Linked DNA regions of Homo sapiens: region 1 is linked to region 2. Evidence: promoter capture Hi-C in 16 types of primary human blood cells and fetal thymus (Javierre and others, 2016). All regions are on one chromosome and are shown on one strand. The core of a region is centred on a gene start or on the middle of the fragment in contact, and the rest is flanking DNA. Distances in the headings are between cores, read along the strand shown. Region 1 has its middle 45 kb from the start of CRNN. Region 2 holds the start of S100A10 (S100 calcium binding protein A10).

The links. The method cuts DNA at HindIII sites, captures the fragments that hold promoters and counts their contacts. A CHiCAGO score of 5 or more calls a contact.
Region 1: a contact is called between a fragment that was not itself captured here and the fragment with the promoter of S100A10 in region 2, in 3 of 17 cell types (naive CD4 T cells, naive CD8 T cells and non-activated CD4 T cells). The highest score is 7.1, in naive CD4 T cells.

What each region holds. Positions count from the first base shown.
Region 1 is chr1:152,457,017-152,461,377 of GRCh38, forward strand. No RefSeq gene overlaps it. Among named protein-coding and RNA genes, the nearest start is that of CRNN, 45 kb to the left of the region's middle. RefSeq lists enhancers at 1,502-1,571, 3,490-3,549. The HindIII fragment of the contact is 1,034 bases long and covers 1,512-2,545 here.
Region 2 is chr1:151,991,516-151,995,445 of GRCh38, forward strand. It overlaps S100A10 (S100 calcium binding protein A10), which reads right to left and starts at 2,344. Exons shown (of 3, transcript NM_002966.3): 1 at 2,237-2,344. RefSeq lists an enhancer at 384-1,583 and silencers at 2,152-2,451, 2,462-2,511, 2,642-2,771. The HindIII fragment of the contact is 5,740 bases long and covers 797-3,930 here.

The DNA of each region.
Region 1 (4,361 bases), core at 779-3,278, 470 kb after region 2:
CACACAGGAGAGGGTATGGCAGGAAGGAGGACAAAAGGGCAGGAGTTCCTAGGGCCAAGTCCCACCACTCTTCACCCCCAGCCTGACCACCTCCCTCCCCTCCGGGGCACACATCTCTCTGCTCCTCTTTACAGAGCCTCTTTATTTAACATGTCATGTGGTTCTGGTATCACAGTCACTACTCTTGTTGTGTGGAAGGGCAGAATCTCAGGGGCCCAGGACAGAATAGAAGACTGTTGGTGAGGCAGGACTTAGTCCCTTAGGGAGTTACCAGGCCAGCCCTGCCCCATGCTGTGGCAATCACAGGAGTGTGTGATACAGAGTGCTTGGAGAATAGGACCAGACCACACTTGACAAAATGGTGCCTATGGGGGTGCAACAATAACATGGCATTTTAGGAAGAGGTGGACAGGACAATGAGTTGCTTTGGGGGCTTTGGTCTTGTACACCATGCCTAGGTTCTGAGAGGGCAACTGTACCTTGCAGAATGACTGCCATCTGCCAGGCACAGTGCTAGGCTTTTTACAACCATTACGCCAGTCATTCCTTATGTCAACCTTATGTGGTGTGCATTGTCCTTTTACATTTCACATCTGAAGACAATTAGACTCAAAGGGTTTCAGATAGTTACTCGATGGGACTGGCACTCCAGAGTCTGCGAGGGCAGAGAAGTTTGCTGGGAGACTGAGAGAGTGCTCATGGGATATTGTGGTATGGGAGGAGCTGGAGCCCTATGTTCTTGGCTGGACAAAGCCCTGTTGTGCTCATTTTGGAGATGGCAGGTGGGACCAATCCCATCACAGCAGCTGCCTCAGCAGGGAGATGCCCTGCAAGGGTGAGGTGTGGCCTAGGCAAGGTGTAGGAACTGGAAACTGAGGTAGGGCTGGAGGGGGGGAATATAACAAGAGTGAAAACAGTGCTTGAGGGCAAAAATGTGATGGGGAAAGTAAAAAAAAAGACCTGGAGTCTACACTGAAATTGAGTGGGGGTGAAGAAGTGAAATATTATTTTGGACCATATGAAATTGTTGTTTTGTAGGTAAAATGGTGGATTATGAACAATTTTATGTGTTCAACCTAATGTAAGCTTACTGTGGGTAAGCACCAAATATTAAGTATAGCCCATGGAATGCAGGGTGGTCTAAAGGTGAGTGGCACTGGATCTCAGCATTTGGAATGCCTACCTGTCCCCATATGTATCATCAGAAGGCACCTGTTAAAATATACACGTTACCTAGAAGTAGCAAATATTACCTAGCAACATCCTGGCACAACTGGCTTTATTAAACCAAGTTGTCACTTACTATGACAACAGCTATATAAAGTGACTGAAAAGAAAATTGGAATTTTGATTGAAAGATCATTTTGACTAGGTAGAGCCTGAGATAGGGGAGCTGCTTGGCAGACTGTGAGCAGCACTTGGCACAAGGTGGGGGGGTTTTGATAGAAGGCATTGAGAGAGAGGAAGCCGAGGTCTGGACCCAAAAGACTTGCTGACTGGCTGTGCCCATAAGCTTCCCTGCGCTGACTGCTGTCAGCCAACAATTAGGATTTCCGTGGTGCTCTGGCTCCCTCTTCAGGGAAACTCCTGAAATGCATCGCCATGTCTCAAGAAGATGGAGCTCCAGCGAAGTTTCAGAGATGGAAGACGGAACGGTAAGGGAACTAGTATTTCTCAAATTCACACTGTGTGTAGGCAGTCTGCTGAAAAGTGGCCACTAATATTGCCATGTATAGAAGTGTAAACTCAGATAATTTACGTGATTTGTCCAAGGTCATAACTCAATGGTGGTAGAGCTGGGATTCAACTTCAGGTTAGCCTGACTCCAAAAGACAAAGGTTGACCGTGGGCATCTCCAGGGAAGGGAGCAACTTCTATTGATTTTTGAATCCAGAGCAACTTCCATTGATTTCTGAAGCTCCAGAGTATAGTTGGGTGCAACAAATGTGAATCCCCAAAGACACAGGGCCCCGCTTAAGACCCCACACGTGGTTTTCCTCCCAGAGTCAAAACCCAGCAAGTTTGTGCCCCTCTAACAGCAGTATGAATCTTGGGCCCCAAGGCTGTGTCTGGGGCAGCCCTTCATCTCTAACTTCTGAGTATTCTTGGCAACCACCTGGAACACAGTTTTCCATGGTGCAGTGCTTCCTCCTCCACCTGCCCTTTCACATAAGGGATCGCCTTTGACCTTAACACCTGCTCTCTCTGTTTGACAGATGATATTTGATTTTTGAAGATGGAAGAGCATCTATCCATGCATCCATTCATTCATAAAACTGATAAGTATTTGTTGAGTGTCTACGATGTCCAGTCAGTGTTATTGACTCTAGAGATACAGCAGTAAACAGAATAGATAAAAGCTGGGATATGTGGGTGGGAGTAGTAGGCAGTAAACAATAACCCTAATAAATATGTAAATTATACAACATGTTAGAAGGCGGTAACCACTATAGAAATAGAGCTGAATAAGGAATGAGAGTGCAAGTGGCAAGGATAAAGGGTAAGTTGTAATTTAAATGGACTGGTCAGCTCTGCTTTATTAAGAAGCTTACTTTTGAAAGAAATATAGGGAGGGAGCCAAGCAGATATCTTGGGTAAGAAGATTCCAGGTAGAGGGAAAAGCCAATGCAAATGTCCTAAGGTGAAATCATTCCTGATCTACACAAGATACAGCAAAGAGGCCAGTGTGGCTGGAAGGGAGTGAGAGAGGAGAGTAATGGGGTTGAGCTACCTCTACTGACTGAGTATATATTATATGCTGGGCACCACTAGGCACTTAAACATGCTGATCATGTCAACTCCTCTGGGAGTGTGTTATGGACCAATTTAGAAGTTGAGAAATAGTGGTTTGGTGAGAGTGGGTAACTCACACATGGCCACAGAGCCAGCAAAGCAGATGTTCTGGCTCCAGAGCCCCGTTCTCTCCTCTGCACCCCATTGCCTTCATTCGGCCGAGTGGCCCTGCCTGCAGCAGCTGCCATGCTCTGAGCTGGCCTCCTGGTGTCAGTGAGCCCCAGCTCAGTGGCCGAGGAGGGCCCCAGGAGTCACAGGCTCTCACTGATCCCCACCACACCGAGGCTGCTTCCTTGTACCCCTGGTTTTAGGTCCAGCGTCCTCACCACTCTGAAATCAATTACTATTTTTACTTCTCTTTTTTTTTTTGGCATTAAGTAGACTTTTGGTTTTTAAATTATCTGAAAGTAAAAGCACAGAAGTGACATTCTTCTTGAAAGTGAAAGCAAGTGTGGAACATTTTTAACCATGCTGTTTCCTATCTGTTCTAGTTTCTGTAGGTAGTGGGTTCAGAGTAGCTCAGAGTATAAGGTGTGGGATGTGTGTGGGGGTGAGGGTTGGCCCAGGTGGACATCAGCATTTGACTCCTTCCTGGTTGCTGTAATTTGGGAGGGACTAACCAGGCTGCTAGATGTGCAGAAGGGTGGGCGCCACCTGCTGGTTGTGTGCATAAACCGCCTTTTCACCCAGTCAATCTTCATTCTTCTTTACTTGGAAATGGCAAATGAAGCCTTTCTATACGTGACTCTAGCAAATTAATTATTTCAGTCTTCCCGAAACACTTTATGTATATAATACCTCATGGTAGCATCATGCAAATGTCCCTTTGCCTTTGCTTGTGCTGGTATACCTTACGAAAAACAATCTGTACATCCAAGATGTCCCCCAACATCACCTACTTCAAAAATCACCTACTTCCAAGATCCATCCCTTACACTCTCCAAACTCCCCAGTCCTCAGAGACCCTAAGACACCTTGAACTACATCTAATCACCATGTGGCTAATGTGTTTGTCTTCTCCCAGAGGGGGACAGAGAATTAGCATTAAATTATGGCAGATCCCAGAAGATGTGCACAGGTCCTAGGACACAGCAAGGTGTTCAATAACTGTTGAAAGAAAGAATGCAGGCAACATATAACAATAAATAGGAAACAGACTGCATTTCGGTTTGTGGAGATGTGTGACATCTAAATAGAAGAAGAATGTCCTCCTTTGGTGATAGAGTTCCAAAGAGTTATTGCACTTATAAACTTTTTATACTAAGTATTGATGCTGGCAACTCAAAAACATCCCTTTTTAAGATTTTTAGGGGCCAAAATTCATACGGACACTCCCAGATGTTAAGGTTTTGACTTCTAAAAAGAGACGAACTGCCTGTATTTTAGGTTTATTTTATTTATTATTATTATTATTTTTTGAGACGGAGTCTCGCTCTGTCGCCCAGGCTGGAGTGCAGTGGCGCTATCTCGGCTCACTGCAAGCTCCGCCTCCCAGGTTCACGCCATTCTCCTGCCTCAGCCTCCCAAGTAGCTGGGACTACAGGCTCCCGCCACTACGCCCGGCTAAT
Region 2 (3,930 bases), core at 1,094-3,593:
TATTTATTTAGTAAAGGGATAGAAAGTGCTGAAAATTGTTTAAAAGAAGTACATTCTTTCTTTTTGCTTTTGATGTGGATTCCTAAATTTGTTGAGTCCCCAGAAAAATGAGAAACTTAAGATGTTAAAATTTTAGTCCAGCTTTCTCAGCACTTTGAGTGCTAATTTATACATTATAATCCTGAAAGAATTCCATTGTTTCTCTCAACTTTACGCTTTAAAAGACTGGACTGTGTCCAAGGGTATACCAAGTGGGTTGTGCTCTACAAAAGTCACATTTTTTGAACTGTCAGTAGAAAGCAGGGAGGCACACAGTCTCAGCTCCACCCTGACCTCACTGGAGTGGCTGCTTAGGAGGCTGGCCAGCACACGGGAGGAAAGGGGCCTATATGATGTGTCGGAGAAAAGCTAGGAAGAGCATCACCCAGAAAGCAGGGTAAGACCCAAAAATTGCTTCATGCCCAGTAGACCAAAAAAATTGTAAGAACCTAGATAAGAAACTCCAAATGGTGGATCAAGGGCCACAGTGAAGAAACTATCCTCTGGCTGTGAAGGAACAAATACACCATTTGGAAGGGATGATTAAAGAGAAACTGGATAGGAATCTGTGGGGGCAGGGCCGATGAAGAAACTTCCAATAAGTTATATGAACTCATTCCCACTCCAACCCCTGGCATTATCTTTTGCAATTTGCTGAAACATGTTGGAGGCAAAGATCACCGACTGGGTGTTTCCATGAGCCTGGCCTCACCTAAAACGCACAACATAAAACTCCATTCCTGGAGACTGAAACTCAAGCTTCTGGGGAAAAATATCCGCAACAACTGCAAACCTCTTAGCGGGAAAAGCTACCTCCCAAGTAAGGCTGAGGCAGGCTGCCAGGCGCATACTGGCCGATAACGAAAAGCGGTCTCGCCAAGGCCCTGCAGATCTAATTACTGCCCTCACCGGCAGTTCAGTCGAGAAACCTCTCCTGCAGACTGGCAGCCAGACCAGGTGTGACTCACTTCCTCTTGGAAAATGCCCTCTGAGATGGCACAGTTCTCCTTTTCCTTCAGGGAGTGTTCTGTCCAAACCATCCACCGAGAGTATCTGCAACCGGCCACACCCACATGGTCTCACAGCTGAGTCACAGGCCTCAGACCACTGGGAGAATCCTGGAGCCCTTTGTGCTAACCACGCCCTGCAGAAGCTCCCGCAGAGACGGAACTGGGTGGGGGCAGAAAACGGGGTGGGCTTAATGCATCCCAGAATCTGGCTTAGGGCTCCCCTGTGCTGGCCTGGCTTGGAGCGCTCTGCATTCCACCCCAGCCAACAAGGCAGAGCTCCTGGTTTCACTTAGGCAGAGCTGGACTGAGGCTGGACAGGCAGCAGTGTCCACGGCTAGGGGCAGCGCCATTCCTTCGGCCAAAGCACAGGTGGTGAACCAAGTACCAAAGGCACGTCTGTCTGTTTCACTGCACCGGGCCAAATTAATCTATGATTGGAAGATCCTTCATCAAGCCTGCTCTTCCTCCATCTCTTTCTGGTTCCACTTATTAAGACAGCAAGGGAACCCTTTCAGTAGAGAAACCACGTCACACAGGGCCCTCTCCCACAAACCCCAGCCAAACTGCTGTAGAAAGAAAACAAGTGGACCTCCCTCCCTCAGCAGGAAGACCCTTTCCGTCGAGCAGACAACAGGAAGCCCCGACCAGAAACGCCTGTTTGGCCGACGGACTAAGGGTTACGGAAGGGACGCCCCAGCTGCCTACTCGTCCTACCCGCGCCTACTTGGGCGGTACAGCCGGGAGCAGGCTACGAACATGCAGACCCGGCCTGCGAGCGGAACCCACCAAGAAACACGCCAGCCAGGGCAGGGGCGTGTAGGAGGGATTCGGTAACCCGAGAGACGAGTGGGAAAGTAGGAAAGGTGGGAGTAAAGCAACGCAAACATAAAGGGAGGAGGGAAGAGGTTCAGGCGCACCAATACCACGGTCCCCTCCTAAAGAACAAGTGCCCCCTCCTCTGGTCCGCGTGGGTCTGGGGGCGGCCGCGCCCGGGCCGGGGAGGGGCGCTGCTGGCCTCGTTTGGGTGTGGCCCGGAGCACTGAGCAGCGGATTCCCCACCAGCCGCTCCCCGCCCAGCCCCGCGGTGCTCCGGACGCCCCGCGAAGCCGGGTGCAGGGTTTTCCCCGGGCAGCAGGTCCGGGCCTGGGGACTACCCAGGAGGGGCGCGTGGGCCGGGCGGAGCTCACCTTGGCCGAGGCGCGGCGGACGCTGGGCGAGCTGGGCGAGCTGGACGCGGGGCGGAGAGGCGAGCGCGGCGGGCTGTGCGCCTTCCTTAGTACGTGCGGCGGGTGGGTAGAGGGAGGCGGCGCGGGAGCGGGAGGAGCCTGGCGGGCGCTCGGCAGGGCGCTCCCCCAGCCCTGTCTCCTCCCCCTCTTCCTGCCCCCGACTCCCCCGACCCCGGGCGCGCGGCCCACGCCCTGCCCTCGCTCCCGGACCCGCCTCGCAGAGGCCTCGCCCGCCCCAGACAGAGCGTTCTTGTAAACTTCTCTTCAGTAGAAACGGTCCTGCTCTCGAATATTTCAGGGCATCCCCACCCTGAGCCTGCCCTTCCTCTCGGGTTTGGTTTTAGAAAGTGTACAAATCAAAGAACCCGGCCGTCCTGCGGGTGGGGCACGCTGGCGCAGAACCAGAGGTAACCGGCTCTGCGGCCACCTACGGGTCTAGGAATTACTTGCTGGATGACCCTGCAGGGAGTGGCACGTGGAGTCCTATCGACCTCAGAGGCACTATCAGATTAGCCCTAGGAGGTCCGTCTGGGGGTCTCGGCGGCCTGCGCCAGTGGAGGGGCGGCACCTCCCCAGAAGCCGGGCTTCCCGCCCCACCGGCCCGCGAGGTGCCGCAGGGAGGGTGCGGTTTGGCTTGTCAGCACCCAGGGGCGTCACAAACCCTTTGTTGAACAGGGGATTTACCCCTTTGTGTGGCGTCACTTGATCAATAGTTCAGTTTCAGTGTGGCTAATAGTGTTAAAAACTGGCCGGGCGCGGTGGCTCACGCCTGTAATCCCAACACTTTGGGAGGCCGAGGCGGGCGGATCACCTCAGGTCAGGAGTTCAACACCAGCTTAGCCAACATGGTGAAACCTTGTCTCTACTGATACAAAAATTAGCCGGGAGTGGTGATGCGCGCCTGTAATCCCAGGAGACTGAGGCATGAGAATCGCTTGAACCTGGGAGACAGAGGTTGCAGTGAGCCGAGATCGCACCACTGCACTCCAGCCTGGGTGACAGAGTGAGACTCTGTCTCAAAAAAAAAAAAAAAAAAGAAAAAAGAAAAAAAGAAAAGAAAAAGGTTAAAAACTAAGTTTCCAAGGCAGTATGCTGTGGTCCTTGAAAAGTCCTTTAGAAGAATTTTCTGGAATAAATTTAGAGAAAACCTAAGTGTTTCCTAGGGGATGCTTACCAACTCCTCGCCCCTCCCCCGCCCGCCCTCTTTTATTTTAATTGTGACTCAGGGTTAAATACAAACTACTAGCAGCTGTTGGTGGAAAAGAGCCCAATCCCAAACTCTGGGGTTTTCCTTTGTTCCCAAGGGAGGCCTTGGGAGGAATGAATGATCCTAAAGGAATGAGCAGACCTGGGGAATCCTCCAAGTGCCACCTCTGACTAATATTGGCTGTTGCCAGGAAAACCCAACTTGGATTTCAGCTATTACTTTCCGTGCAACCCTGGTGCTGACTATTCAAGGGGACAGCTCTTCAAGATCTTCCTGTATACAGTACTTCCCAGTCCCCAGGTCACAGTCACCAGTGGAGGAAATCTCGGATCCCTTTTGTTGCAGGGATTGCAATGCGACTGGGTTTAGAATGGGAATGCCTGGGTTTGCGTACCCCTACTCATCTGATTTCTTCATCTGGTCCACAGACCTTAGGAGTGCTTTAGTG